Linked DNA regions of Homo sapiens: regions 2, 3 and 4 are each linked to region 1. Evidence: promoter capture Hi-C in human tissues and cell types (Jung and others, 2019). All regions are on one chromosome and are shown on one strand. Each heading gives the region's core, a stretch centred on a gene start or on the middle of the fragment in contact. The rest is flanking DNA. Distances are from core to core; before and after follow the strand shown. Region 1 holds the start of BATF2 (basic leucine zipper ATF-like transcription factor 2). Region 2 holds the start of FAU (FAU ubiquitin like and ribosomal protein S30 fusion). Region 3 holds the start of MIR194-2HG (MIR194-2 host gene). Region 4 overlaps VPS51 (VPS51 subunit of GARP complex).

Region 1 (7,820 bases), core at 1,573-4,072:
CCTATTTGCCTCCACTTCCTGTCTTCCTTCCCCTAGACTGCGGACACCTTAGGACACGGCTGGGCTGAGGATGACCCTTTGTGTCCCTGGAGCCTGGTGTGTACCTGGCACATGGTTTGTACTCAACACCCAGAACTTTCCAAATGTCAGCCACAGGATCCTTTTCTCATCCCAAACTCAGGTGACCTAGAAAAATACAGGAGTTTGGGGGAGGTCTGCTCAAAGGTGGGATGGAGAAGAGGTGGCTGGGCCAGTAAGTGGAGCCAGAGACAAGGAAAGGGGTTAGGGGTTGTCCACACCTGGTGCAGGGCGTCTGCCTTGTCTGTGTGCTTCTGCCGGCTTCGCTGGGCGGCTGCCCGGTTCTTCTGCTTCTTCAGCTGCCTTTGTTGCTCCTTGGGGTCCTGTGGGGCATGAGGCAGAGGACTCAGGGGGCCCAGCCAGGCCTTGTGCCCTCCGTCCTGGCCCGCCATTTGTAAAGCCAAGTCTTTCCCCTTGAGTCAAGTTCCCAAGGGTCTTTTATCTCCCAGAAGCTCCCTTGGCACCCACACCCCCTATAGCAGGCACTGCACACCTTGTTGGAACGCCAGCCTCACCCCTGTGTCCTGCTCACCGCTCATGTGGAGGGTGGGAGGGCAAGCAGGGAAGATGGGAAGCCTGAGATTCAAACTCAGACAGAGCCAACTTCAAACCCCACATTCTTTTTTCCTTTTTTTTTGAGACAGAGTCTCACTCTGTTGCCCAGGCTGGAGTAGTGCAGCGGCTCTATCTTGGCTCACTGCAAACTCTGACTCCCGGGTTCAAGCAATTCTCCTGCCTCGGCCTCCCAAGTAGCTGGGACTACAGGCACCTGCCACCATTCCTGGCCAATTTTTGTATTTTTAGTAGAGATGGGGTTTCCTCATGTTGGCCAGGCTCATCTCAAACTGGTCTTGAACTCCTGACCTCAGGTGATTCACCAGCCTCGGCCTCCCAAAGTGCTGGGATTACAGGTGTGAGCCACCGTGCCCAGCCGAGCCCCATATTCTTGAACCCAATCGCCCCATCCCTGCAATGGAAGCACCACAGCAGAGGGTTAAAGCCCATGCGGCAGGCAGCCCAGAGCCGGCGTGCCATAAAGCTCAGCTTCCATTCTTCTCATTGCCATGATTTCCACACCAAGGTGTGAACTTTCCTAACTGTGAGCTCCATGAGGGCAGATGTGGTTCTCTGTGCTCATGCCCAGCTCAAGCCCAAAGCAGATATTCACTTACTCAACAAACATGTATAAGCACCTACTATGTTCCAGGCAGTAAGCTAGAGGGACATGATAGCAAACAAAATACACACAAATCCCTGCCCTGAAATTGCTCACATTGTAGTGGGGTGGTAGCGAAGGATGAATGAATGAAGGGTTTATTCCGGTGGAAGAGTGGACTCAAAGGTTGTGACCACCTTGTACCCTGGGATCAATGAAACTTAGATAAAATATTTTACCCAAATGTCCAGAGCTCTGCAAAGTCAGAGCAAGAGGGACTGTTGGAGAGCTCACAGCCCAGCCCCCGCCCCCAAGTCTCTCTGGGGTATGTGTTTTGAGGGTAAGGACCTCAGGCAAGGCCCTGGCCGCCCTGGCTGCAGATTCTGAATGCTCCTAGGCTCCTGCTCCATATGCTCCCTTGGGCCATGTCCACAGCGGGCTCACTGTAGACACTGGGGCACCAAGAAACTAAAGGCTGAGACAGGACCCACGGTGAGTGAAGGGGGCTCCTGTGAGATAAGCAGAGCCTCCAAGGGAAACCATGGCCCAGGGAATTTATTTATTATTTTACTTTATTTTATTTTATTTTATTTTATTGAGACAGAGTCTCTGTCGCCCAGGCTGGAGTGCAGTGGCGTGATCTTGGCTCACTGCGACCTCCGCCTCCCAGGTTCAAGTGATTCTCCTGCCTCAGCCTCCTGAGAAGCTGGGATTACAGGCATGTGCCTCCACCACGCCCAGCTAATTTTTCTATTTTTAATAGAGACGGGGTTTCACCATGTTGGCCAGGATGGTCTCGATCTCCTGACCTCAGGTGATCTGCCCGCCTCAGCCTCCCAAAGTGCTGGGATTACAGGTGTGAGCCACTGAGCCCGGCCTATTTTATTTTATTGAGACAGAGTCTCTCTCTGTCACCCAGGCTGGAGTGCAGTGACATGAGCTCAGCTTACTGCAACCTCCATCTCCCGGGTTCAAGCAACTTTCCTGCCTCAGCCTCTCGAGTAGCTGAGACTACAGACGTGCCCTGCCACACCTGGCTAATTTTTGTATTTCTAGTAGAGACGGGGTTTCGCCATGTTGGCCAGGCTGATCTTGAACTCCTAACCTCATGTTATCTGCCGGCCTCAGACTCCCAAGGGGCTGGGATTACAGGCATGAGCCGGCCTGGGTTATTTGGAGAAGGAAGGAAAGGCTGCTGTGAGTGTAGTGAGGGGGGACCAGGTACGTTAGGAGAGAGCAAGTACACAGAGGCCAAGTTCTAAACCGAAGGCTGGATCTGCAATGTGAGAGCTGGAAACAACTCATTCCAATCCAATCCCGACTTCGGGGGAGGAAAGTGAGACCCAGAGAGGGGCATGCAGAGCCCTCTGTCACACTGCTCAGAGTATAGAGCTGGGACTAGGAGCTCCCGACTGCAGCCCTCACTGCCTGGGCACTGAGGACGGGATCCCAGCTCCCCTTCTCATCCCCGATCCCCAATCCCCTGTACTCACTGTCTGGGTCAGCAGCCCATTGCCCCCACAGAGGTGCATGGCTTAGGCGGGGGAGCAGAGTGGTCCCTCAGCAGCTGTGACTTCCCAGTGCCCTCTGGAGGCCTAAGGAAGTGGCAGCTCTTTAAATCCCCAGTGGCCACTCCGCCCCCAGAGGGCCAAGTTTCAGTTTCTCCTAAAGCCACCAGCTGCTCAGAATCCCTGGCTCAGGCTTGCTCACGTGGCTAGAATTTCCTAACATGAACTGGCCTTCCGGTTGGGCCCCTTCTCTGGAAAGAGGATGGTGGAGGGTGGAGAGGAGGGAAGACCAAAGGCCAGGTATGAGGAGGGTGTTCTAGGGGAGGGAGGACAGGCGGCCAGGGACTGAGATGAGAGAAGAAGCCAGTGGGGACCGATGCTCATGTGGGGTAGAGAGAGCCCTTGAGCTCTGGAATTGGGGGAACTCTGGATCACAGCACACATTGGAGCTGTCCAACTTTCAGAAAGTGACTCTCCTTCTCTGAGCCCTAGTTTTCTCATCTGGAGGATGGTACAACTACCCACTCCCAGGCTCATTGCAGGAACTAAGCCAGATAATACAACCACCCCCAAACCTTCTGAGACCACTATGGAAGCATGTCTGCAAAATTAAGCAATGGCTGTTGGATAGAACAGATGGATACATTACTGTTTTCATACAACAGACCATGAAGCAGTGGAAAGATTGATGTCCAGTGGTTAGGAGCCCAGCTTCCAAGCTATGTGACTTGGGTTCGTAATTTCATCTGTGTTTCTGTTTCCAAATCTGTAAAGTGGGGATAAAAACAATTTTGTTAGGCCAGATGCAGTGGTTCATGCCTGTAATCCAAGTACTCTGGGAGGCCAAGGCAGGAGGATTACTTGAGCTCAGGAGTTTGAGACCAGCCTGGGCAACATAGCAAGACCTTATCTATATTAAAAATAAAAAAAATAACTGGGCATGGTGGCACACACCTGTATTCCCAGTTACTCAGGAGGCTGAGATGAGAGGATCACTTGAGCCCAGGAGTTCAAGGCTGCAGTGAGCTATAATCTTGCCACTGCACTCCAGCCTGGGCAATAGAGCAAGACCTTGTTTCAAAAAAATTAATTAATTAAAAATTAAAAAATAAAGACCTAGCAAACCCTGAAGCCCCGGGCATACCTGCATGCTTGTTGTATCTCTAAGAGGGACACTTGGATGGGGCATCTGTTTGGGGGCCAGAGGGGCCAGTAATTCCTGTCCAAGAACAGCATGCATGCAGTATGTAGAGTCCTATGGTCTGGTGACTAGAGCATCTTGGAGTTGTACCTGAGACCTGAGGGCTCATGGCTGATGATGTGGTATCACAAGAATGGCAAATACAGATATGATCTTCTGATAGGTGATGGTGGCTGGAATGTTGTTTTAAAGAGTTCATGGACACCTCTGAGCTTAGTAAAAAAGAGTACTGCAGTTGATTAGCAATGTCTGCCACACCATGATCGATTAGTGATGCCTGTTATGGGCAGAGGTGTGGAGAGTGCAGTCCCCTGCTATCCCTAGAACCAGGCATAAAACAAGTCTGGGTTTCAGAGACAAAAGACTTGACTCTCCATCCTGGCACTCCACTCACCCAGTTTATCACCTGGAGCCTCAGTGTCTTCAAAGATATGCTGGTGATCACAAAGAAATGATACCTATTTGACAGTTGTTTTGAAGATGGGAAAGAATGAGATGAGAAGAAAGCTCTTGGGATATTGTAAAGTACTATGTGGCAAGGATTCCCCCTCCTGAAATTTGTGGTGTCATATTCTGGATTCTAAGATTATTAATGCAGGCTCCTAATTTAAAATGCCTGGGTGGGTGAGATTGGGCATAAGAGCTGGGCCTTGCCCTCCTAGCTTCTGAGGGGCCTGGGAGCAGAGGCGGAAGTGGGATGCCCCACGCAGTGAGGCCATCCCTGTTTCTCTGAATTATTGTTTCCTGGAAACCAGGAAGGCTGGGGCGTCTTGCCTGAGGCAGGCACCTGAAGGGCTCATTAAGCCAGCCCATGAGCTCCCCTGGGAGGATCTGCAGGCACCTTGTGCATGATGTGACTACGAAGAAACACCCGTGTGTGCTTGTGTGTGTGTGTGTGTGTGTGGAGGGGCTAGGCCTGAGTGTCCCACTCCAGATCCCAGCCCCTGCCCCAGACCCCCAGTCTTTCTTCTCCAGACCCTGGCTTCTGGCAGAGGTGAGACAGCAGGTGTAGCTCTTCCCAGAACACCACAGCCCTGGGAGAAGACCAAAGAAGGCAGCGTTTATGGCTCCCTGAGGAGGCAGCTGGGAGAGGGAGTGGCAGGGAGGGAGGGAGGTAGGGTGGGTAATGTTTAACTAGGAATGGCTGTGGGAGACTTCTCCCAGGCTGGTGGGACCATCCAATCTGACCTCGCCTTAGACGGTGTCTCAGTCAGCTCAGGCTGCTATAATGCAATACCAGAAACTGAGTGGCTTAATGACAGCCTTTTATTTCTCGCAGTTCTGAGGGCTGAGAAATCCAAGAGCAAGGTGCTGGTAGGTTTGGCTCCTGGCAAGGCCTCTTCCTGGCTGGAAGATGGTGGCACTCTTGCCGTATTCTCACACGGTCTCTCTGCCTTCTTATAAAGACACTCATCCCATTGTAGGGTCCCACCCTCACAACCTTATCTAAGCCTAATTACCTCCTGAAGGCCCCACCTCCAAATACCATCTTACCAAGGGTTGGCACTTCAGTGTGTGAGTTTGGGGGGGGAACACAAACTTTCAGTTCATAAAAGAGGGTGAGGAAACTAATGCCCAGAGGGGCAAGGTCACTCCACGGGAGGGGCAGAGCTGCAGGGAGAACACAACCTCTCTCTTCTAGGCCTCAGTCCTGCTCCACACTCTGCTTGGAAAGGCCTGGTCCATTAGTCCAGAGCCAGCAGCCCCAGTGGGTGGAGGGTTGGAGGCCTCCCAAATACCACAGCTACCAATGAGCTCCTACATGGCAGGACTGGTTCTTTGAAGGATCCCCAGTGCTTCAAACACTGCCTTCACGTAATAGATGCTCAATTAATGAATTAATTAATTAAAGTCCAGCAGGCAGCTTGCCACCCAGGAACCCCAAAACTTTCCTGAGGAAAGAAACTTTTCACTCATTCCCATAGGACCTGCCCTGGGTTCCTGGTGGGCTCCCCCCAACCAACTTCATCATTTCACCAATGAATAAACTGAATTATAGGGAAGAGAAAGTCACACCACTGTTTTGGGAGAAGCCAGAATGCCCTGAAGCCCTGTCCCTTTTTTTTTTTTTTTTTGAGACGGAGTCCCACTCTGTCACCCAGGCTAGAGTACAGTGGCACAATCTTGGCTCACTGCAACCTCTGTCTCCAGGGTTCCAGTGATTCACCTGCCTCAGCCTCCCAAGTAGCTGGAATTACAGGTGTACGCCACCACACCCACCTAATTTTTTGTATTTTTAGTAGAGATGGGGTTTCACCATGTTGGCCAGGCTGATCTCGAACTCCTGACCTCAAGTGATCTGCCAGCCTCAGCCTCCCAAAGTGCTGGGATTACAGGCGTGAGCCATTGCACGCGGCCTGTTTTTTGTTTTTTGTTTTGAGACAGAGTCTTGCTCTGTCTCCCAGGCTGGAGTGCGGTGGTGCGATCTCGGCTCACTGCAACCTCCGCCTCCCAGGTTCAAGTGATTCTCCTGCCTCAGCCTCCCAAGTAGCTGGGATTACAGGTGTGTGCCACCATGCCCAGCTAATTTTTGCATTTTTAGTAGAGACGGGGTTTCACCATGTTGGCCTGGCTGGTCTCAACCTTAGGTGATCCGCCAGCCTTGGCCTCCCAAAGTGCTGGGATTATAGGCGTGAGCCACCGTGCCTGGCCAATGGGGATAATAATAGAAGGATTTAAGTAATTTATGTAAAGGGCTTAGAACAGTGCACAGCCCACAGTTAAGTCACATAAACATCTGTTAAACTTAACAAAGGCACTCAATACATATCTGATTAATTTTTATTCACGTAACAACAGGCTTGTGTTTCCCTCCCTCCCTCCCTCCTTTCTCTCTCTCTCTCTCTTTCTTTCTTTCTTTCTTTCTTTCTTTCTTTCTTTCGATGGAGTCTTGCTCTGTACCCAGGCTAAAGTGCAGTGGTGGGATCTCAGCTCACTGCAATCTCTGCCTCCTGGGTTCAAGCGATTCTCCTGGCTCAGCCTCCTAAGTAGCTGGGACTATAGGCAGGCACCACCACACCCAGCAAAATTTTTGTATTTTTAGCAGAGACGGGGTTTCTCCACATTGGCCAGGCTAGTCTCCAACTCCTGGCCTCAAGTGATCCACCTGCCTCGGCCTCCCAAAGTGCTGGGATTACAGGCGTAAGCCACCGCACCCAGCCTTTTTTTTTTTTTTTTGAGACAGGATTTTGCTCTTGTCACCCAGGCTGGAGTACAGTGGCGCGATCTTGCCTCACTGCAAACTCCGCCTCCTGGGTTCAAGCAATTATCCTGCCTCAGCCTCCTGAGTAGCTGGGATTACAGATATGCAACACCACGCCCAGCTAATTTTTGTATTTTTAGTAGAGACAGGGTTTCACCATGTTGGCCAGGCTGTTCTTGAACTCCTGACCTCATGATCCTCCCGCCTCAGCCTCCCAAAATGCTGGGATTACATGCATCAGCCACTGCACCCGGCCGTAAGTGAAGTATTCTCCATGCAGCTGCTCATGAAACCTTCACCAGGAGGCAGCAGATATCTGTGTTAGAGGAGTCTCTCTCCCTTATTAGATGATCTAAGTTAAGTTACTACCAAGTCTAGAGTGCACCAGCTTCAGACACGAGGCCCAAACGATGTCATCAGGAGTCAAACTCTTACTCTATTTGCTGTCCTCCAGGCTGGCTACATTCTCAGGCAGAGCCCGGTCATGGGAGTAGGATGGCCACCAGAAACACCAGCTTCACAGCAACCCAGGGCAGGCACATCCCCAGCCCCTCCCACTTTCCCAGTAGCTCCAACAAAAGTCCCAGGCCTGGCCTTCCTTGGTCTGGCTTGGGTCATGTGCCTATTCCTGACATCAATCACTGTGACCAGGTGAGATTGGCAAGGGCAGGGCCT
Region 2 (5,345 bases), core at 1,884-4,383, 130 kb after region 1:
TACCTGATCACTTGACTGGTTCATCTCAGGTCTCACTCACGTCATTTAAACAGGACCTCTCGGCTGGGCACAGCGGCTGACACCTGTAATCTCAGCACTTTGGGAGGCCAAGGTGGGCGGATCACTTGAGCCCAGTTCAAGACCAGCCTGGGCAACATAGCAAAACCCTGTCTCTACAAAAAAGTACAAAAAATTAGCCAGGTGTGGCGGTGCATGCCTGTAGTCCTCAGCTACTTTGGAGGCTGAGTAGGATCACCTGGGCCCAGGAGTTGGCGGCTGCAGTGAGCCATGATTGTGCAACTGCACTCCAGCCTGGATGAGAGAGACCTTGTCTCAAAAACAAAAAAGAAAAGGCCGGGCACTGTGGCTCATGGCTGTAATCCCAGTACTTTGGGAGGCCGAGGTGGGCGATCACGAGGTCAAGAGATCGAGACCATCCTGGCCAACATGGGGAAACCCCATGTCTACTAAAAATACAAAAATTAGCTGGGCGTGGTGGCACATGCCTGTAGTCCCAGCTACTCAGGGGGCTGAGGCAGGAGAATGGCGTGAACCCGGGAGGCTGAGGTTGCAGTGAGCTCGGATTGTGCCACTGCACTCCAGCCTGGCGACAGTGCGAGACTCTGTCTCAATAAAATAAAATAAAGAAAAAAGAAAAACAAAAAAAGAGGCCCTCTCTGGGATGCTATTGTATCTGTCCACATCCTCCCCCTTTCTAAACTGCTGGAAGGCAGAAACCATGTCTTTAACACCACAGAGACAAAAATAGCCAAGATTCACACACTCACTGTAAGCCAGATGTTGATTTACATCCTTTAACCCTCACAGCAGCCCTGGAGATGGCAGAGATTAAATTAGTAGTTAGTTCAAAGGCCAGCCACCCAGTAAATGGAGTAGGAAGAAAAAGAAGGTCCAAACTCAGGCAGTCAAAGTCCACAGCCCAAGGGCTTTACCCTGTTGGATGCTATTTCTCAAGAACTGGCAGGTCCAGAAACTTTAGCTGAATGAGTAAGTGGGGTTCAGAAGTGCTGGGAGGCTCAGTTGCCAGAAGAGAACCCTGAATCAGCCCCAGAGGTAACCCAACTTTTGGGAACACTGAAACCTCACTATATCCAATCACAGATGTGATTAGGTTACCAAGTCCGGCCAGGCAGTCACAGAGGTACAAACGAGGCCATGCTCCCAACATAATATTTACTTCTAAAACCAAGGCAGACCAGATTCCTGCCCTGGACTCTAAGGCCACAGCTGGTACCAAGTTCAGGGAACGGCCAGGTTCACCTTCTATACAAACCTCTTCCCCCACCCATCCCTTCTATTGCTGCCTCCATAACAAACCTCTCACCACAGTGATTCCTGCTACCTTCTCTGTTTAGAAGATGAAAAAGAATGACCTGGGGGGACTGATCAAGTTACTTAGGATAGGGAATAACCCCAATTTTACATCTGAAGCCCCCCAGGATCTGTAGCTGTTTCTTCACAGGAAATTTCTCTTGTAGTTTACCATTTCTTCCCCCCATACCAAAGGCTTCTGCCTTTTCTGCCTCACTGTTCTCCTAGGGGACATACCACCAACCCGAGAAGCACACCTCTCCCTGAGGCCTTGCAAGTAAAGATGAAACAATGCGATGACTGAACTAAGTGGCTTTTTTATTAGAGAAAGCCAGAATTACAAAAGACTTAAGAGTTGGCATTGGGGCCCTTCTTCTTGCCAAAGGTGGGCACAACGTTGACAAAGCGCCGGTTGTACTGCATCCGCCGCTTAGCCCGACCTGTCTTCTTCTTCTTCTTCTCCTGTTTGGCCACCTGGAGAAGGGAAGGTTAATCAGGCCCTGGTTCCTGTCTTCCACACCTAGCATCCCTTCCCTCAGGCTCATCTCCAGGGAGGGAGAAGGCAAACCGAGTAAGAGCCCAGGGACTTGGTTTAGCTGTGAAAGGAAAAAAAGTCCTAACACCATGACCACTAATACTCTCACTCACCTTAGGAGTCTGACCTCTCACTTTTCCAGCACGGGCCAGGGAACCATGGACTTTACCTGTAGTGGGAAAGGAAGGCACCAGCAGGTAAGAGCAAGAAGGTGCCACCCAGCAGAACCCCTCTTTTCTCAATTCAAGCCTTTAAAGAGAAGCTGCGCCCAATAGGTAATGAGAACAAAGTTGCAGATATTTGACCTTGAAATCTTAAGTTTCATTTCAGGATCTTCCAGCTTCTAATTTTATAGAGCACTTTGGGGGCCCTGGTCTGACCTAATTTTAGTGTGGAAGCTGATAACCAGACTAGGATCTCGTGATGTGACTGAAATACAACTACACTCTGGCTCAGTCTCCCATGGACGTCTGTGTTCAACATGAGGGATGTAAACAGGAAGAATCACTCTGAACTGAAGACAGTGAGAAGTACTCTATTACCATAGGTGTGACACTCAGCTGTCAGGACTATGCACCCCACACTCACTAGACGCTTACCGGTACTTCAAAGAACATTCCTCTCTCACTCACCTCCAAGCATGCGGCCTGCTACTTCCAGGGTAGTCAGGGCCTCCACCCCGCACTGGCCCAGAGTGGCCTCATCCTCCAGGGGCGCGCCTGCCAGGAGCACGACTTGATCTTCCGGGGCAATGCCCTCCAGTGAGGCTACATGAGCCTACAGGGAAAGATAAGGCTCGTAAGCGTTCCCTCGGGCCGCGAGAGTGAAGAGCACAAGAAAATGGAACCCAGGGCGCACCAAGCAGCCTTACCTTGATCTGGGCGACCGTTTCCTGGCCGGTCACCTCGAAGGTGTGTAGCTCCTGGGCGCGGACAAAGAGCTGCATATTGGCGACTGAGTAAAGAAAAGACGGCTTGTAAGAGAAGCCAAGAAATGCTCTGGGATAAAGGAGATTTGGGAGTGGAAAGCGGTCCAGAAACGATCGCGACGGGATGGTGGTCGCGGCGGCTCACGTGGGGAAGGCCAGGCCTCCCAAGGAGTTCGGATAGGGACTGGAGCAGGGCCACGGAGCAGGCCCCGTTCTTCGGTTCCCCCCGCGCCTTCTGACCCCGCAGCCAACCTGCTACAAGCCCTTCGGATCCAGCCAAGGCCCCATTCTTACCTGAACGGCGGTCCCAGCTACCGCGAAGATGGAGTCGAGAAAGAGGAAGAAGCGAGGGCGCGTCAGTACAGACCGTGGGCTGCGTGTCACGTCACTGCTGAGCGACCGCGCGGTTCCCTGCTATTTGTACCGCCCAAGGCAGTCCTAGCTCCGCCCCTTTACGCTCGCACCGGCGAACCTGCCTGGGCAGGCAGCTCGCGCAGGACGGGGCGGGACCAGACAGTTGCGCGCACAGAAGGCTGGCGTAGCAGGTAAAGATGGCAGCTACCATGTTCCGGGCTACGCTGCGGGGATGGAGAACCGGTGTCCAGCGGGGCTGCGGGCTACGGCTGTTGGTGAGAGCGCTGAGCGAGGAGCTGAGGGCATCGCGTGGGTGTGAGGCTCAGTGTTAATCATTGTTAACCCCGAAAACTAAGGCATTCCTACTTGGGGCCTTAGTTTTGCCGTTTTCGATCAGGAGAACTTGTCCCGAGTGTACATATAGAATCGAGAGGGAAAATGGTAGACTGGGGTGCTCTTTGGGAGCACTTAACACAGTGCCTGGCAGTGTCTATATAAGCCACAACGTTTCAGGTAAGGGGCGGGGTCCTAGCATATGAGTGTGCGTGGGGAATTATGATTGCCTTAATTCTTTTTTTTTTTTTTTTTGAGACGGAGTCTCGCTCTGTCGCCCAGGCTGGAGGGCAGTGGCGCGATCTCGGCCCACTGCAAGCTCCGCCTCCCAGATTCACGCCATCCTCCTGCCTCAGCCTCCCGAGTAGCTGGGACTACAGGCTCCCGCCACCATGCCCGGCTAATTTTTTGTATTTTTAGTAGAGACGGGGTTTCACCTTGTTAGCCAGGATGGACTGGATCTTCTGACCTCGTGATCCGCCCGCCTCGGCCTCCCAAAGTGCTGGGATTACAGGCATGAGCCGCCGAACCCGTCTGATTGCCTTAATTCTTAAGGCAATCATAAGATTAAACATCACTATATCCCGTCACAGATGTGATTAGGTTAGCAAGGCCAGCCAGGCAATCATGGAGGTACAAACAAGGCCACGCTGCCAATATAATAATATCTATTTCTAAAACCGAGACAGAAAGTTAAGCCTTAAGTTTCTAAAGGCTTGATTGACTTTTCAGAAGTGTACATATACTCTTTTGCATCCCACAGAAATCCTGAGAGGCAGACCATTCAGAGTACCTGAGCCTCCTTTCCATCCCATCTGTACCCTGCACCATGGAAAACCAAAGACTGGTGCTATCTTATGTCAACCTAAATAACAGACTCTAAAAGAAAAGGATATTTATTCGGGAATGGGTATAGACTATGTGCTTATCAGGGAGGTAAAAGAAGACAAAGGTTTTTAACAGAAAAATGGGCCAGGCACGGTGGCTCACGCCTGTAATCCCAGCACTTTGGGAGGCCAAGGCGCGTAGATCACCTGGAGTCAGGAGTTTGAGACAAGCCTGGCCAACATGGTGAAACCCGTCTCTAGAAAAAATACAAAAATTAGCCGGGTGTGATGGCGTGTGCCTGTAGTCCCAGCTACTTGGGAGGCTGAGGTAGGAGACTTGCTTGAACTTGGGAGGCGGAGGTTGCAGTGAGCCGAGATCACACCACTGCACTCCAGCCTAGGTGACAGAGTGAGACTCTATCTAAAAAAATAATAAAAATAAATAAAGGAAAGGAAAAATGAGTATTACATAATTGTTTTGAGACAGTTATCCTTGGCTACAAGGATGAATAACATGGGTGGTGCCAGTTCAAGATTGGACAGGCAGTTGTTGGACAGATGGCCATGCAGGAATTTGTTTTGTTTTGTTTTGTTTGAGAGAGTCTCGTCGCTCTGTCACCGAGGCTGGAGTGCAATGGTGCGATCTTAGCTCACTGCAACCTCCACCTCCTGGGTTCAAGCAATTCTCCTGCCTCAGCCTCCCAAGTAGCTGGGATTACAGGCATGCACCACCATGCCCGGCTAATTTTTGTATTTTCAGTAGAGATGGGGTTTCGCCATGTTGGCCAGGCTGGTGTTGAACTCCTGACCTTAGATGATCCTCCTGCCTCAGCCTCCAAGGTGCTGGGATTACAGGCGTGAGCCACCTTGCCCAGCCAGAAATATTTTTTTGTGTAAGGTTGAAGTGGCCTTTGTGCAAGGCTGTGGTTTTTGCAGTCTTTTGTGGTAGTTCTTGTTATTAAGTATTTGTGCCCAAGAACTCTCTCTTCGTGGCCCTCCCTAGCTCTATTTGTTGGGATTTTTAACCCAAGTGACT
Region 3 (7,820 bases), core at 2,013-4,512, 100 kb before region 1:
AAATGCTTGGACAGAGCTTGAAAGGGTTAGTAAGAGTGAGCCTGGCAAATAAGCTAGGAAGAGTATTGCAGCCCAAGGGAACAGCATGGGCAAAGCATAGAGGTGCCACAGGGCAGGCAGGGCAGGGGCAGGACTGAAGCTGTTCAGGCTCATTCACGGGGAATGAGACAGAGGGAGGTGGGACCATGAGTGCTGCACTGGGGTCGCAGGATCTCTGCTGACTGCTGGACACCCCCGGCCCTCCCCTATCCCTGCAGGTCCTGGTGGCTGGCATTGAGGCGAACATACCTGTGACCTATGGAATTGGCAGCCAGAGGGGAGACGAGAGCACTGGCTGTCAATTCATAGGTCAGAGCCCTGTGCACTCGGTCTCGGCAGCCCACCGACAGCCCTCCACTACCCGCCACCATCTGGCCTGGGAGCGTCGCCACGGTAGTCCTGGCTGGTCTGCTGGCCAGCACCTGCCTCTCCTTCTTCGTGGGTACTGGCCCTCGCCCCAGATAACAGCAGCCCCACTGGAACCAGTGGGCACTTCCACATGGAGTTGCTGTTACAGGGGGCGGGAACCAATTGGAGACCGGGGCCCTGCCTGGCGTCCGCCTTCGGCAGGGCTCTGGAGAGTGTCCCATGCCCACTCACCTGGGCTCCCCAGTCTTCGTGGCCCCAGGTCCATGGTCTTTTCACCGAGGCTTCTTATCATCCGGGGCCCACACCTGGCGCCCCGTGTGCTGCCAGCACTCCTTCCTGGGCAAAGTCCAGGCTCAACCCCAAATCGGCCTCATAAAGCCGGGAGCGGCTCGGATTTACAACTCCTGGGCAGCCTTTGCCCGCTCTGATGACCCCACGCCCTCTGTCCCCAAGTTATTTTGTTTCCTTGTTTCTTTCCCAACCAGAGCTGGGCCTCAGTTTCAGGTTTGGCCACTGTCACCTCTGCCCTTTGCCCACCCTCCCTGCTGCAGCCATGGGGCAGAGAGACAGCAAGGGACAGCTGGCACTTGTCAGTCCCCAGGGACCTCCCAGTGCCTGATTTCATGAGGATGGCCTCGTATGGGAAGCTGAAGATGAGACTAAGAAGAAGTGTGGGGGGCTGTGTGGGGGAGGGCACAGAAAGAGGGATAGTGAGGCAGAGGGGCTGAGAGAGGAAGAGAAGAGTAAGGCCGAGGATGGCGGTGCACACCTGGCATCCCAGCACTTTGGGAGACCAAGGTGGGAGGATCTCTTGAGCCCAGGAGTGCAAGACCAGCCTGGGCAACACAGTGAGACCCCATCTCTACAAAAAATAAAAAATTAGCCTGGTGTGGTGATGCATGCCTGTGGTCCCAGCTACTCAAGAGGCTGAGGCGGGGGATCACTTGAGCCTGGGAGGTCGAGGCTCCAGTGAGCTGGGATTGTGCCACTGCACTCCAGCCTCAGTGACAAAGAAAGACCCTGTCTCAAATAAAAATAAGAGGAGCAGGTAGAGAACTAGAAAGGAACAGAGAAAACAAACAGGGATAGTGGATGACGAGGTGTAGGAAGGGGGACGACAGGGAACTGGAAAAGATGTAGATACACAAACCTGCCGCAGAACATGAGGAACAGGCTGTGAGCAGTGGCTCGCCTGGAAGGACGCTTAGGACCTCAGTGGCCTGGAAGACAGCAGGGGCCTGGGAGCTGGGTGACCTTGAGCAAGTAGCGTAACCTCTCTGAACCACTGTCCATATGTCAATCAGGACTTACGAGGCCACCCTGCACGCTGGGCTGGCCTGGTGGGAAGCATCCGCCCTGGGACCCTTGGGTCTCTCTCCGCTGTGGGGAGAGGAAGCAGCTGCTGGCCAGGGTCCCTGAGTGAGCCCAGGGCTCTGTGAGGCAGAGCTTCCTCTTGCAAAGCGTGTTCTCGTCCCTCCCAGACAGGTTCCGGTGACAGGTGCCAGTCCTGCAGAGACCCAGCAGGCATTTTGGGAGACTCCAAAGCTTCTGGAGAGAAAGGGGAGCTTTTAGAGTAGACTTGGGCCCTGCCCCCTTTGCCAGTGGTGCATACAGGCCTAGAGAGACAGAGGGGGCCGCCCAAGGTCACAGAGCAGGGCCCCAGGGCCTGTGCTGCCCCAACAACCTTCCCGAAGTGGCGTCCCCCCTTCTCAGGATGCAGTCAGGGTGGGATGGGGGATCCCTGGGCTGGAATCCTTCTGCCTGGGGGGACAGACCTGCGAAGGAAGACACCGTAGCTGGTGGCTGGCCCTCCACTCAGCCTGGCGGCCCTTCCCACAGAGGCCTGGGCGAGACCAGCCTCCTGCAGCGTGGTGTCCAAGTGCCCTGGCCTGGCAGAGACAGCGCCCGATCAGGAATCCTGGCTCCACAGCTCTGAGCGCTGATGCTAAGGCCCCCTTATCCCACAGTGGAAACCAAGGCACAGAGAGGAAGGGGCTCGTCCCGGCCACCCCATGGCTGTCCAGGTCCCTTTCTTCCTCAGGATTGGCCACCCTTCAGAGAGGTGCCTGGGTTCAGGAGCCTCCTAGGACAGGGAGGGCGGCAGGGGTCCTACCACTCAGGAAGCCTCTTACCTGAGTGCCGGGCTGGCCTTCGGGGCACAAGGAGGAAGTGGGGACACCCTGGGCCCAGGGCCTTTTGAGCCGTTGACCCAGCCCCTGGTGGTGGTTAATGATTATCCCACCACCGTCAATACTGATCACAAGTGCGGTTCGAAGGGCAGGAAGCCCTGGACTGTGCCCGGGCAGGGTGGGGCGGGTCCAGGAAGCATCAGGCTGGGCCCCATCTGCCTCTCCGGGTGGCATCAGCACCGAGTCTCCACAGCCCTGTCTCCTCCAGGGCCTCGCCCTCCTGGTCTCTTACCAGCCTGCTGCCCCAGCTGTCCGTGGGCAGCCAGGACCCCAGGGTCCCTCGGGACAAAGCTTCTGCTCTGTTCCCAGTACCCAGATCTCCCCCACTCAGAAGGGGCCACAGAGCAGGGCTGGGGGACCTTTGCTAACCCCAGAGGCCTGCGGAACCTAGCAAGGTGAGGGTTCCCTGATTCCCAACCCGAGCCTTGGTTTCCCCATGGACCCACCCACCTCTGTGCAGCGCCACTGGGAAGCAGGGCAGGGAGGAGCGCGATGGGAGCAGCTCACAAGAAACAAGATGTGTGGGGGGCAATGGGCGCTCCCTGGTCCTGTGTAAAGCTTTGTGCAGTGAGGGTTGGGATTCCGGCTGCAGCGCTGCTCCAGCACCCCTCCCCCCTCCAAGTGCTGGAGCTGGGACCCCAGATCAGAGTGGAAACCAAGGGGCCAAGGCCTGGGCCACCCCAAAAGCCCCCACTAGGGATGGTGAGAGCAACATCTAGAATGCCTCAGGCTCAGCCTTCCCCGAGTGGCCTCAAGTGACAACCAGGCAGGGTCAGCTGGGCTCCAAGGACCATCCCTCCCTCCCCTGGCAGCCCCACGTAGCTCCTGCCACATCAGGAGTGGGGCTGGAGTGGCAGCCTCCTGGGAGGGGCAAGGCAGAGCCCAGAGCCAGGGGAAGGCGTGCAGGGCTGGGTGCCTCTGGGTCCCCCTGTGCCCTGATCTGCTGGGCAAGGCCAGGAGGCATGGCGACCCCTGGTGGTGACATGGGAGGTGCTGGGTGCAGAGGTGGGATCTGGGGCGGGGCCAAGGTCAAGGCTGAGGCCAGGGTTCACAGGGACAGAGGATCTGAGAGGGGGGCTGGCGGTGGGCAGTTTATTCCACTTCATGCAGACACTGACCCACGCACTCACGGAGCTTAAAAATAATACATCGAACCACACGGATATCATCCCCTCCTCCCCCCAGACACAGAAAGACACTTGGCTGAGTGGGATGGGGTCCGAGGGTCCAAAAGCCTCCGTCCTGGGAGAAGGCAGCAGTGTGGGCCCAGGTCGGGGGAGGGGCAGTGTCCTTTCTCCCCGGAGGAAAAGTGCAGAGCCAGGGCTAAGGCCCCAAGGCAGGGAGGCCCCCCTCTCACAGCAGATTGGCAACGGGCAGGCTGGGAAGGCGTCCTTCACAGTGGCCATCCCCTGAAGGGCCAGGCCGGGCCGGGCCCGTGGGCTGCAGCTCTTGGGAGGCTCAGGAGCATGGTGGGCAGCACCCTCTGGGTGCCGGGCACCCCAGGCTCAGTCTTGGGCACTGTCCGAGCGCCACTTGAGGGCGTGGTCCTTGTGGGCGTCGGGGACAATCTGGTTGCGCATGCCCCCGAGCAGGCTGGACGTGGCCTCCGTGGCCAGGATGAGCGGCTTCACCACAGTCGGGGGCAGCTGGCGGATCACGCCCCCCACGGCGCCCGTCAGCCCCTTCTGCTCATGGCCCCGCGATGCCACGTCACAGATGGTCTGAGCTGTATCCAAGATGCCCTGTGGAAGCCAGAGGTCAGGGCGGGGTCTGTGTGAGGAGATGGGCATGGGGGACTGGGGCAGGGCGGGGGCCTGGTCACCTCTCGCACTGTGTCGTAGGCCTTGGCCACACCCTCCCGCAGGTCGGCAGGCTGCTGGCCCCTGCGCAGCCTCCGCGCAGAGCGCTTATCCTGCAGGGAGCGGGAGACGGGGGCTGCCGGGGACAGGATGTCATACACGGTCTCAGCTGTGGCCTGGGGGACATGGGAGCACTGGATGAGGACAGCTGGCTGGGGCACACGTCAGCCCCAGGCCCCCAGGACAGTCTGAGACCCCACCAGCCCTCAGCCTCCCTGCCTGTCACTGTGCTGGCCTAGGGGGTCCTGCTCAGCCTCACTCCCCACTTCCTCCCACTCTTCCTCCCCTTCCTAGGCACCTGCCACTCTGCTGAGGGAACCTAGGAACGTGGGACTCCTCAGGGGACTTTCCTAAAGTCTTCTCAACCCAAACCTCTCTTCCTGCTGACCACCACATTCAGCAGGTTCCACATGGCTGCCGCAGCTGCACGCCTGAGACTGACCGCTCCTTGCCTGGCCCCCCAGACGCCCCTGCCAGATGGTCAGAGGCCCATCCTTCCTTCTGTCTGCCAGATCCTCTGCCCAGCATCTCACCTGGCATCACTCTTTCCCACCTGACTGAACACTCCCGGGGGCTCCCTGGTGCCCATGCATCCCTCCCACCTCCCCTGGAGCCCTGCCCTCTGTCCTGTTGGGGTCTGAGCTTGCAGGTTCCAGAATGCACCATGCACCTGCACTCACCCCTTAGCCGCCTAGGACCATCGATCCCCTACAGAATTCATCTGACAACTGCCCACGAGACTGGCTCCCCAGCTTCCCTGGGGTCCTTCTGGCCTAGCGAAGCGTATGGCCTGAATGAACCAGGGCAGCCTCTGCGCCTCAGATTCTTAGTCTGCAAACACAGCCGTCCTCCACCCCCCTTTACAAGACATGCCATGAGCAGGAGACACAGTGGGCTCTGAAGGCCTGGGGGGCACTCCCGCTCCTGCATGGGAGCCCCTGTGGGCCTCGGGAGACCTGGCTTGGAGGTCCCAGGCAAGTCACTTAGCCTCTCCGTGGCTGTTTCTCTATAAAGTAGGGCTGTCATACCCAGACTGCCCACTCTGAGGAGCTTTGAGGACAGAACCAGGGAGCTGTGGTGCAGAGGGCTCCAGCTGCTCTGTCCTGCACAGCCCAGATACAGGGCACCCACTCACCTGGATAGCCTGTACCAACCGGTTGCTGAGTTCCAGGGCGGCAGAGGCTGTGGATGAGCCAAAGGAGGCAGCCCCTCGCTGCAGCCCCCGCATGAGGCGGCCATCCTTCCTGTACTGCTCAATGGGCAGCCACAGCAGGTCCCGGAACCCTTGGACTAGGGGGAAGGAGCGCTCAGAGACACCCGAGGCTGCCCTGCCCCCACCTCCTCCTCTTATTCCCAATGGCAGCTTCTAGGTTGCCCAAGGGTAAAAGCAGTTTCGAGGGCTTCCAAACCTAGACACTCACAGAGCTGGACAACCGAGTGCATGGGGCCCACGCCTCCCAGCAGGCCGGGCAGCTGGTTCTTGCGGATGTCCTGCAGCCACTCGTTGAGGGCATAGCCCAGCACCTTGTCCACACCCAGGAGCCTGGCAGGGCAGGGAGGTGAGGAGGCAGAAGGTGAGGCAGAGCCACACATGGAGGGATTGTGGGGTCAGGAGGACTCAGTACCCCTGTGGCAAGTACTGTGGGCACTCTACCCTCCCTGTGGTCCCACCCAGTCATGTGCAGAGGGACTGTGTCCTTTTTTTTTTTTTTTAGATGGAGTCTTGCTCCGTTGCCCAGGCTGGAGTGAAGTGGTGCGATCTTGGCTCACTGCAACCGCCTCCCAGGTTCAAGCAGTTCTCCTGCCTCAGCCTCCTGAGTAGCTGGGATTACATGTGTATGCCACCACGCCTGGCTAATTTTTGTATTTTTAGTAGAGACGGGGGGGTTTCACCATGTTGGTCAGGCTGGTCTCGAATGCCTGAATGTGTGAGCCATCATGCCCAGCCAACTGCGTCCTTTTTACAGAGGAGAAACTGAGGCCCTGAGAAGGGTGATGACTTGGCCAAGGCCACACAACCAGTCAGGACCAGAACAGAAGGAAGATCAGGGACCCTGGAGAGAGGCTGGGGTGCTGGGGACTCACCCGTGCCTGCAACAGAGCCGCTTTAGCTTCAGCTCGGAGCAGTTGAGTTGGGCCAGGCCGATGAGGAGGCCAGCAAAAGTGCCCTGGGAGAGGGAGGGGGTCCAGGTTTACCCAATGGGACTCAGGGAGCTAGCTAGCCCATGGGAGCCACTGGAGAGCGCCCTGGCTGCTAACAGTGCCTGGATGCAAGACCTGGCCCCCAGAGGGACTCAGCCACAGCTGACCCCACATGGCCACCCCATCCGACCGCCCCACTTACCACCTGGTCCATCGTGACGTGCTTGCCATGGTAATCCAGCCAGATGGGGACCTCAGACGTGAAGCGGAACTCTCTGGGTAGGGGAGCAGGAAGAGGGGGTTCTTTGCTCACTGGCCTGGCCCCCAGCAATCTGGCCCAGGGCCCCCCACCCGCAGTCCAGCAGCCTACCTGAAGTAGATGGGCTGCTGGTCAGGAGGGGAGGGGCTGTGTCCACCTCCTGGGGCCTCCTGCGAACCAGTGGTCTCTACGCCTTCGGCCTGCCCTTCCAGGGGGCTGCTGGGCTGGGCTCGAGTCTCGGGGCGAGCTAGGGGAGGGGAGGTCACAGACTGGGGATGGGGCCAGGAATGACTGGGAACCTGTGCTGTCCTGGGAGGCAGAAGGCCCAGACGCTCCCCTCCCTGGCCCAGCCTCTCACCCTCAGCGGAGGTCTCCCCTGGGACCACGGGGTTGATGCCGGCCACCAGACTAGTGAAGAAGTCCTTGAGGAAGAAGAGGGCATCCTGCAAGGGAGAGGTCCAGATGTGGATCAGACTCAGAGGCCTGGAGACAGTGGGGTCACCCTAGGCTCTGCCCTCACGTAGACCACTCACCTGGTCCACATTGAGCCGCAGGGGCATCAGCGAGACGCGGAGACAGCACTCAGGCCCACCCAGGTTGGTAGTGGGGGCCACATGCAGCGCTTTGATGGTGAGCTGGGAGCAGAGGGTGAGTTCTGGACACCTGCTGGGCCTCTGGGGCAGCAGCTCACCCAGCTGTTCCCTGACAGCTCACCCAGCCACCCTGCCTCTGAACACGCTGTTCCCTTCGCTAACACAGCCCCTAGCTCTGCCCTTCTCCCAGGCTCACAAACAACCTGGGTGTTTGTGTGGGAATGCGTGTATGTGTGTGAATCCATGCATGCGTGAAGATGTATCCCCAACGGTCTGGTGCCCTGCCCCAGGGTGGATGGTGCAGGTCGCTCATACCATGTTAGAGTGGGCACGTCGCGGCATCCGCTCACTCGTGTGTAGGTACAGGAAC
Region 4 (7,715 bases), core at 3,022-5,521, 110 kb after region 1:
AAACATGCTAATGTTTCATATGCCTATGATTCCATTTCTGTTAAATGTATTCTGTAGCGAATAGACAAATCCATAGAGACAGAAACTAGATTAATGGTTGCCAAGTTCTAGGAGTGGGGGAATAAGGAATGACTGCCAAGGGTTACAGGGTTTCTTTAGGGGATGATGAAATGTTCTGGAATTACGTAGTGAGGTTGGTTGTACAACCTTGTGAATATATTAAACATATTAAAAACCACTGAATTGGTATGTCAATTATATCCCAATTAAAAAGAAAACCAGGCATTGAGCCAGATTTGGCCTGCAGGCTGTAGTTTGCCAACCTCTCACCTAGACATTGAGTTTCATTATGTAATAATGCATTTACTTGTGTCAAAATTAGAAAGATCTCAAACATTATACAGGGAAAAGCCTCTCCTAATTCTTTTCTCTAGGCAAAGACAAAGCAGTCTTTGACAGTACATTTCACTGAAAATTAACAGAGCCCAGGTGGGATTATGGCTCATACCTATAATCCCAACACTTTGTGAGGCAGAGGCAGGCAGATTGCTTGAGCTCAGGAGTTCGAGACCATCCTGGCCAACAGGTTATACCTGTCTCTACAAAAAATACAAAAATTAGCTGGGTGTGGTGTTGTGTCCCTGTAGTCCGAGCTGCTCAGGAAGCTGAGGTGGAAGGCTTGTACCTGGGAGGCAGAGGTTGCAGTAAGCCAAGATTGTGTCACTGCACTCCAGCCTGGGTGACAGAGCCAGACCTTGTCTCAAAAAAAAAAAAAAAAAAAAAAAAAAAAAGAAAATTAACAGACATACAGAAAAGTGCACATAAGTGGACAGCTCCATGGATTTCACAAAGGGAGCACAGTCACATAATCAGCATCCAGGTCGGGAAACAGCATAACCAGCAAAGCCCCCTGAGCCTCCTACCAGTTACCACCCAGTCCCCTCCCAAGGTAGCCAACATCCTCGCATCCAGATGGCTTTCACTCTCCCTGGTTACAAACTGCTTTTCTTAACAAGCTTTTTTTTTTTTTTTTTTTTGAGACAGAGTCTTGCTCTGTCATCCAGGCTAGAGTGCAGTGGCCCAATCGGCTCACTGCAACCTCCGCCTCCGGGGTTCAAGTGATTCTCCTGTCTTAGGCTTCCAAGTACCTGGGATTACAGGCACCTGCCACCACACTTGGCTAATTATTGTATTTTCAGTAGAGACGGGATTTCACCATGTTGGTCAGGCAGGTGACCTCAGGTGATCCACCTGCCTTGGCCTCCCAAAGTGCTGGGGTTACAGGCGTGAGCCACTGTGCCCAGCCTGCTTTTCTTAACAAGCTTGAAATGCAAAGATAAACAGTGTAGTCTTTGTGACTGAATGGTGTGGATGCTTTCACTGTTGTTTTTGGATATGGTACAACTTTTATCTCCAGTGTAATGGCTCCATGGCTGGGAAGGCAGCGACAATGACAGCACACAGCACTGTTGGGTTTTCTTTTACTCTATTTTCCTAACAACTTAGTGTTTGGATTTTACCCTTTAGAAGTTGGATTCAAGCTTCCTTCTTGAGGTAGCCCCTAAGTGTCATGGGCTCAAACACCCACTACCAAAAGAGTCTGCTCTTTTCATGGTAGCTTTTGGCAGACCTGGAAGGAGATTGTGTCACATGGCCTGTAAACAAAACCAGTAATTCACTGGGTGAAGACCAAATGCCTCATCAACTGCCAAGCCTCTGTCTGTCTCCCTTAGATCAGTAGCCCATGATCCCTTTACGAACCTCAGCCTCGGCTCTGCTTTTATTGTTTTTCACTGCATAGCGCTGCCTTTGCTATGTCCTTTAGTTCACCATCTATGAATTGGCAAGAAAAATTTTCTTGCCAGGCACAGTGGCTCACTCCTGTGCTCCCAGCACTTTGGGAGGCTGAAGTGGGAGCATTGCTTGAGCCCAGAAGTTTGAGACCAGCCTGGGCAACATAGAGAGACCCCATCTCTACACAAAATTTAAACAAAAATTAAAAAATTAGCCGGGTGTGATGGCGCTTGTGTGTAGTCCCAGCTACTTCAGAAGCTAAGGTAGGAGGATCACTTGAGCCCCAGAGTTCAAGGCTGCAGTAAGCTGTGTTTGCACCACTGCATGCCATCTTGGCTCACTGTAACCTCCGCCTCCCCAGTTAAGGTGATTCTCCTGCCTTAGCCTCCTGAGTAGCTGGGATTATAAGTGTGCATCACCATGCCTGTAGACAGAGCAAGACCCTATCTCAAGCAAAGAAACTCAAAATAATTATGATTTCCCCAACAAAATGCAGGCAATGGTCCCTATGGTCCCAAAAGTAATATAGATGTTTCACATCATGTGATTTTATTCCTTAGTAACCTTCCTTTCTATGAAATCATCTCTAAGAGGGCTAAATGATCCTTTCTTGTGGACTGTGTTGTTAAAATGAAAAGTCCATTTTGCTGATACGTAATCTACCTTTCCATGTAATTTTTTAAAAAATCCCTTAATAGCTCTACAGATGTGAGCCCTGTAGATTCTTTGTCTCAGACAGTTCTTTCTCTTATATTTTCTCTAATATTTTTTTCCTGCATTTTTTGTTTCTGTTTGTTTCTTGTCAAATTGACATCAATGCTTTTCTCCTTACTCACCCTTCCAGCTGTCTCCCCAAGTGGGGTAGATTCCCAGTGTTGCTTGGAGAACATTCCTACAGTCCCAGAGCCACACACAGACCAGGTGTGGGTGTGTGAAGGCTCACAAGTGATTGCAGTTAGATATTTCCAGATTCTTCTTTGTAAATGCTGATCAGTTTGCATAACCACCAGCAAAGAAGAGAATACCTCTTTCAATCTTTGACAATCTGAGAAGTGAAAAGTGGTATCTCTTATTGTTTATAGTAACGTTTACAGGGTGTTTTTTTTTGTTTTTTTTTTTTAGGGCTTTCTATTTATTCAATTATTATTATTTGAGACAGAGTGTTGCTCTATTACTCAGGTTAGAGTGCAGTGGCACAATCTCAGCTCACTACAACTTGTGCCTCCAGGGTTCAAGCGATTCTCCTGCCTCAGCCTTCCCAGTAGCTAGGATTACAGGCACCTGCCACCACGCCCAACTACTTTTTGTATTTTTACTAGAGACAGGGTTTTACCATGTTGGCCAGGCTGGTCTCAAACTCCTGACGTCAAGTGATCTGCCTGCCTCGGCCTCCCAAAGTGCTGGGATTACAGGCATGAGCTACCGTGGCTGGCCTATTTATTTGATTATATCATCTGCAAATAGTGATACTTCTCCCTCCTTTCCAATTTGTGTATCTCCATAATACATCTCGTGACTCTAGCTGAGTTGGCTAATGCCCCAGAACAATGTAGATAACATTGGCAATCAAGGTTGTCCTTGCCATGTTTTGACTTTAATTGGAGTGCTTCTAGCACTGCCTCGGTAAACATGATACTGAGTTTTGGAGGTCAGGGAAATATTTAGCTGCTCATATGTTATTGAGAGTTTTTTAAAAATCAAGAATAGATGTTGAAATATCTATTAACATGGCAAATTATTATGAGATCCTCTAATTTTGAGTCATCCTGGCATTCATGAAACAAAAACCCTTTTGTGTTTATCAATTATTATTTTAATATGCTGCTGGATTTTGTTTGCTTATTTGTGCATCTCCATTTGTTTATTTAATTCATCCTTGCATCTCCATTCATAAGAGATATGAATGTGTATATGTGAGGTATTTCTGTTATGTTTTCATAACAGTGTTATGTTTGTTCCATCAAGTTTGTGTGAGAGCTGTTCTCGTTTCTCTGCTGGGGCAGTGTTTACACAGAGAATTGGAAGGCGCTGTCCTTCAAGCCGCCGCAACACCCCTGGACATCTGGGCCAGATGCCTTTGTGTGGAGGGGAAAGGGGAGTAGGACCTTTCTTTCACAACATTCTCTAGTTTTTCTGTTTCTGTTTTCTTGTTTTTTGCAATCCATTTTGGTAAATCCTATTTTTGTAGCAAATTATCCATTTCATCCATAGAATTCACCAAGCCCTTACCAATTTAGTGTTTTCTTGGTATTTTACCCATGCTGCAATTTCAGTTTTGATTTCCTTTTCTGACCTCATAATTGGTTAACAATGAGGTTTTTTCGACTGGGCACGGTGGCTCCCGCCTGTAATCCCAGCACTTTGGGAGGCCGAGGCGGGTGGATCACTTGAGGTCAGAGACCAGTCTGGCCAACATGGTGAAACCCTCTCTACTAAAAGTACAAAAATTAGCCAGGCATGGTGGCACGTGCCTGTAATCCCAGCTACTCGGGGCTGAGGCAGGAGAATCGCTTGAACCCAGGAGGTGGAGGTTGCAGTGAGCTGAGATCGCGCCACTGCACTGCAGCCTGGGCGACGGAGGGAGACCCTGTCTCAAAAAAAAAAAAAGAATGAGGTTTTTTTCTTTGTGATCTACCATATGGAAAGGTTTGTATATATTTTATGGCATTGTTTGGGAAAAATGCAAACTGTGTGCTTCCTATGCTCTCACATCACCACAATCATGACCACAGAAGAGTTCTGTGACCAAATGTGTTGGGTTTCTTCCCCACACACCAAGCAGCAGACACCCGCTGGGTGTCCTCTGATTTAATTCCAACACTATTTACCCAGAGATAGCATCAGATTCCATGAGTTGAGGGCTGAGTCCCCAAGCCTGCCTCCCTTCAGGCACTAGTTCAGTCCCAAATCTGCCTCCCCACTTTCAGGCACTAGCTGCAGGTCAGGGCCTCAGGCCTCCAGAATTTCTGACCAACTGGCTCCAGGTAGGGGTTTCCATAACTCCCTCTTTGGGCTCAGTTTGCTGGAGTGGCTCACAGAGCTCAGGATAACACATTTACCAGTTTATTACAAAGGATGTTACAAAGGGTACAGATGAGCAGGTGCATAGGGCGAGGTGTAGGAGAAGGAGCATGGAGTTTCCATGCCCTCCCCGGGCGTGCCACCCTCCAGGAGCCTCCAGAGCTGAGATCGCGCCACTGCACTCCAGCCTGGGTGACAGAGTGAGACTCTTTCTCAAACAAAACAAAACCAAAATATCTCCTGTTACAGATACACATTTCTGTCTTATCCTCTTCGCCTTTCTTTATGAACATTGTTGGTATGTTCAATGGAATTAGGGAAATTAGTTGGGAAATGTTGGCAGTTGTTGGACAAGAGATGATAGTGGCTTACAAAGAAAATGTTGCAGGTAGACCTTCCATGACTTGGTAATGGATTGATTACTAGGTATATTAATCCAGGTTCATACTGCTGTAAAGAACTGCCCGAGACTAGGTAACTTATAAAGGAAAGAGGTTTAATTGACTCACAGTTCACAGCATGGCTGGGGAGGCCTCAGGAAACTTACAATCATGGCAGAAGGTGAAAGAGAAGCAAGGCATCTTCTTCACAAGGCAGCAGGAAGGAGAAGTGTTAAGCGAAGCAGGGAGAGCCCCTTATAAAACCATCAGACCTCGTCGGGTGCGGTGGCTCATGCCTGTAATCCCAGCACTTTGGGAGGCCAAGGTGGGCGGATCATGAGGTCAGGAGATCAAGACCATCCTGGCTAACATGGTGAAACTCCATCTCTACTAAAAATACAAAAAATTAGCTGGGTGTGGTGGCAGGCACCTGTAGTCCCAGCTACTTGGGAGGCTGAGGCAGGAGAATGGTGTGAACCTGGGAATTGGAGTTTGCAGTGAGCAGAGGTCGTGCCACTGCACTCCAGTCTGGGCGACAGAGCGAGACTCAGTCTCAAAAAAAAAAAAAAAGAATAGGTGGAATTGAATTGAGGCCGTCAGTGAACAGTCAGGAACATTGGAAGGCTCATCCATGTGGATGTGCACAAGGAGGTGACAGGAGGAGGAGAAGAGGCAGTGATGGGGAACTGAGAGGAGTGTCAGAGGACAGTAGAGACAGCAAAGAGGAGGGTTGTGGCTTGATGGCATGGTCTTCCTAGAAGCCGGGGTTTTGAAGAGAGGAGATCTAGGCATGATTTAGAAGCATGAAGGGACCAGGCTCCCAGGCACCTGGTGTGTGAAAGGAAAAACAGCCTCCCTAGGCAGGATTCTATCAGGACCAAAGGGAAAGGGCCCTTCAGAGAAGACAGCCCATGTTCCGGAAAGCATGTGAAAGGCTTTGGGAGGTCTGGAAAGGAGATGAGGGTCAACAAGAATGTATTGCCTCATCCAGGCAGTGCGCTGGACACGCAGATGCGCTTGGGAGCCAGCGGTCCCTGCCTTGGCTGCTTGTGGTCTGATGGAGCAGTTGAGGCACAGTGGTGGCAGCTGGCTAAGCACCTGCGGCCTGCTTCGGATCTGGACTAATTCTGAGGGCCGGCTCTCCTGGGCACCAGGGTTAGGGGGTTACGGGGAGTATGTGAGTAACGCCTGCTTTGGGAACATAAACCCCCTCCCCCGCCCCCATGTGCGCTGTGACCCACGCCCTCGCAGTCCTTTCTCTGGAATCATCCATGCGCCCCTGGAGCAAGCTGGGGCGTCTGTGAAGGGGTGGGTGAGAAGGAGCTGAGGTTGCGCCCGCCCTGCAGTCACCTGCTCTCCCCTTTTCCCCGCCCCTGCCCTCCTAGACACCATCCGGAAGATGAAGAACGATTTCCGGAAGATGGAGGATGAGATGGACCGGCTGGCCACCAACATGGCAGTGATCACCGACTTCAGCGCTCGCATCAGCGCCACGCTGCAGGACCGCCACGAGCGCATCACCAAGCTGGCAGGTGGGCGCTGCCGGGCAGGGCCTGCAGTGGGCCTTTCCTGGGGCTCTGGGGCTAACGTCACCCTCCGTCCCCCAGGGGTCCACGCGCTGCTGCGGAAGCTGCAGTTCCTCTTTGAGCTGCCCTCGCGCCTCACCAAGTGCGTGGAACTGGGCGCCTATGGGCAGGCGGTGCGCTACCAGGGCCGCGCGCAGGCCGTGCTGCAGCAGTACCAACACCTGCCCTCGTTCCGCGCCATCCAGGACGACTGCCAGGTCATCACGGCCCGCCTGGCCCAGCAGCTGCGGCAGCGCTTTAGGTGTGGCCCCTCTGCCCTGACCCCAGCGCTCCCGCCAGCCCCGAGCCCCATCTGTGCCCGGCTCCTGGGCCCTCCTGGAGCTGTCCCCCTGCCCTGTGTGTGCTTTGCTTTCCTGCTCCTGCCCCATCCACCGGCAGCCCCGGCCCTGCCCTTCACTACCTCTCCCTCGTGCAGGGAGGGCGGCTCAGGCGCCCCGGAGCAGGCAGAGTGCGTGGAGCTGCTGCTGGCCCTGGGCGAGCCTGCGGAGGAGCTGTGCGAGGAGTTCCTGGCGCACGCCCGCGGCCGGCTGGAGAAGGAGCTGAGAAACCTGGAGGCCGAGCTGGGGCCCTCACCTCCGGCTCCCGACGTGTTAGAGTTCACCGACCATGGAGGCAGTGGCTTCGTGGGCGGCCTCTGCCAGGTGGCGGCGGCCTACCAGGAGCTGTTTGCGGCCCAGGGCCCAGCAGGTGCCGAGAAGCTGGCGGCCTTCGCCCGGCAGCTGGGCAGCCGCTATTTTGCGCTGGTGGAGCGGCGGCTGGCGCAGGAGCAGGGTGGTGGTGACAACTCACTGCTGGTGCGGGCGCTGGACCGCTTCCACCGGCGCTTGCGGGCTCCCGGGGCCCTGCTGGCCGCTGCCGGGCTCGCAGACGCTGCCACGGAGATCGTGGAACGAGTGGCCCGCGAGCGCCTGGGCCACCACCTGCAGGGTCTCCG

The links. Contacts are between HindIII fragments. The study calls those that stand out against the background at their distance.
Region 2: a contact is called between the fragment with the promoter of FAU here and the fragment with the promoter of BATF2 in region 1, in 1 of the 25 tissues and cell types used here (lymphoblastoid cells).
Region 3: a fragment that was not itself captured here is called in contact with the fragment with the promoter of BATF2 in region 1 in 6 of the 25 tissues and cell types used here (H1 embryonic stem cells, dorsolateral prefrontal cortex, lymphoblastoid cells and 3 more).
Region 4: a contact is called between a fragment that was not itself captured here and the fragment with the promoter of BATF2 in region 1, in 3 of the 25 tissues and cell types used here (dorsolateral prefrontal cortex, lymphoblastoid cells and mesenchymal stem cells).

The regions. Positions count from the first base shown.
Region 1 is chr11:64,994,149-65,001,968 of GRCh38, forward strand. It overlaps BATF2 (basic leucine zipper ATF-like transcription factor 2), which reads right to left and starts at 2,823. Exons shown (of 3, transcript NM_138456.4): 1 at 2,728-2,823; 2 at 300-401. The coding sequence starts at 2,766. RefSeq lists an enhancer at 2,222-2,722 and a cis regulatory region at 3,967-5,105. The HindIII fragment of the contact is 29,477 bases long and covers 1-7,820 here.
Region 2 is chr11:65,119,001-65,124,345 of GRCh38, forward strand. It overlaps FAU (FAU ubiquitin like and ribosomal protein S30 fusion), which reads right to left and starts at 3,134. Exons shown (of 5, transcript NM_001997.5): 1 at 3,090-3,134; 2 at 2,739-2,821; 3 at 2,500-2,644; 4 at 1,981-2,036; 5 at 1,630-1,806. The coding sequence starts at 2,813. The coding sequence ends at 1,681. It overlaps MRPL49 (mitochondrial ribosomal protein L49), which reads left to right and starts at 3,321. Exons shown (of 4, transcript NM_004927.4): 1 at 3,321-3,424. The coding sequence starts at 3,347. RefSeq lists enhancers at 3,092-3,181, 3,342-3,611. The HindIII fragment of the contact is 8,684 bases long and covers 2,706-5,345 here.
Region 3 is chr11:64,890,871-64,898,690 of GRCh38, forward strand. It overlaps ATG2A (autophagy related 2A), which reads right to left. Exons shown (of 41, transcript NM_015104.3): 32 at 7,766-7,820; 33 at 7,391-7,492; 34 at 7,216-7,300; 35 at 6,969-7,104; 36 at 6,801-6,873; 37 at 6,542-6,624; 38 at 5,878-5,999; 39 at 5,592-5,746; 40 at 4,420-4,572; 41 at 3,676-4,339. The coding sequence ends at 4,103. MIR194-2HG (MIR194-2 host gene) reads right to left here and starts at 2,579. Exons shown (of 3, transcript NR_133640.1): 1 at 2,541-2,579; 2 at 1,720-1,956. It overlaps MIR192 (microRNA 192), which reads right to left and starts at 376; the gene lies at 267-376. MIR194-2 (microRNA 194-2) reads right to left here and starts at 569; the gene lies at 485-569. It also overlaps MIR6750. The HindIII fragment of the contact is 4,598 bases long and covers 964-5,561 here.
Region 4 is chr11:65,101,001-65,108,715 of GRCh38, forward strand. It overlaps VPS51 (VPS51 subunit of GARP complex), which reads left to right. Exons shown (of 10, transcript NM_013265.4): 3 at 6,581-6,727; 4 at 6,803-7,022; 5 at 7,197-7,715. Among named protein-coding and RNA genes, the nearest start is that of TM7SF2, 7.0 kb to the right of the region's middle. RefSeq lists a silencer at 1,237-1,531. The HindIII fragment of the contact is 6,205 bases long and covers 1,170-7,374 here.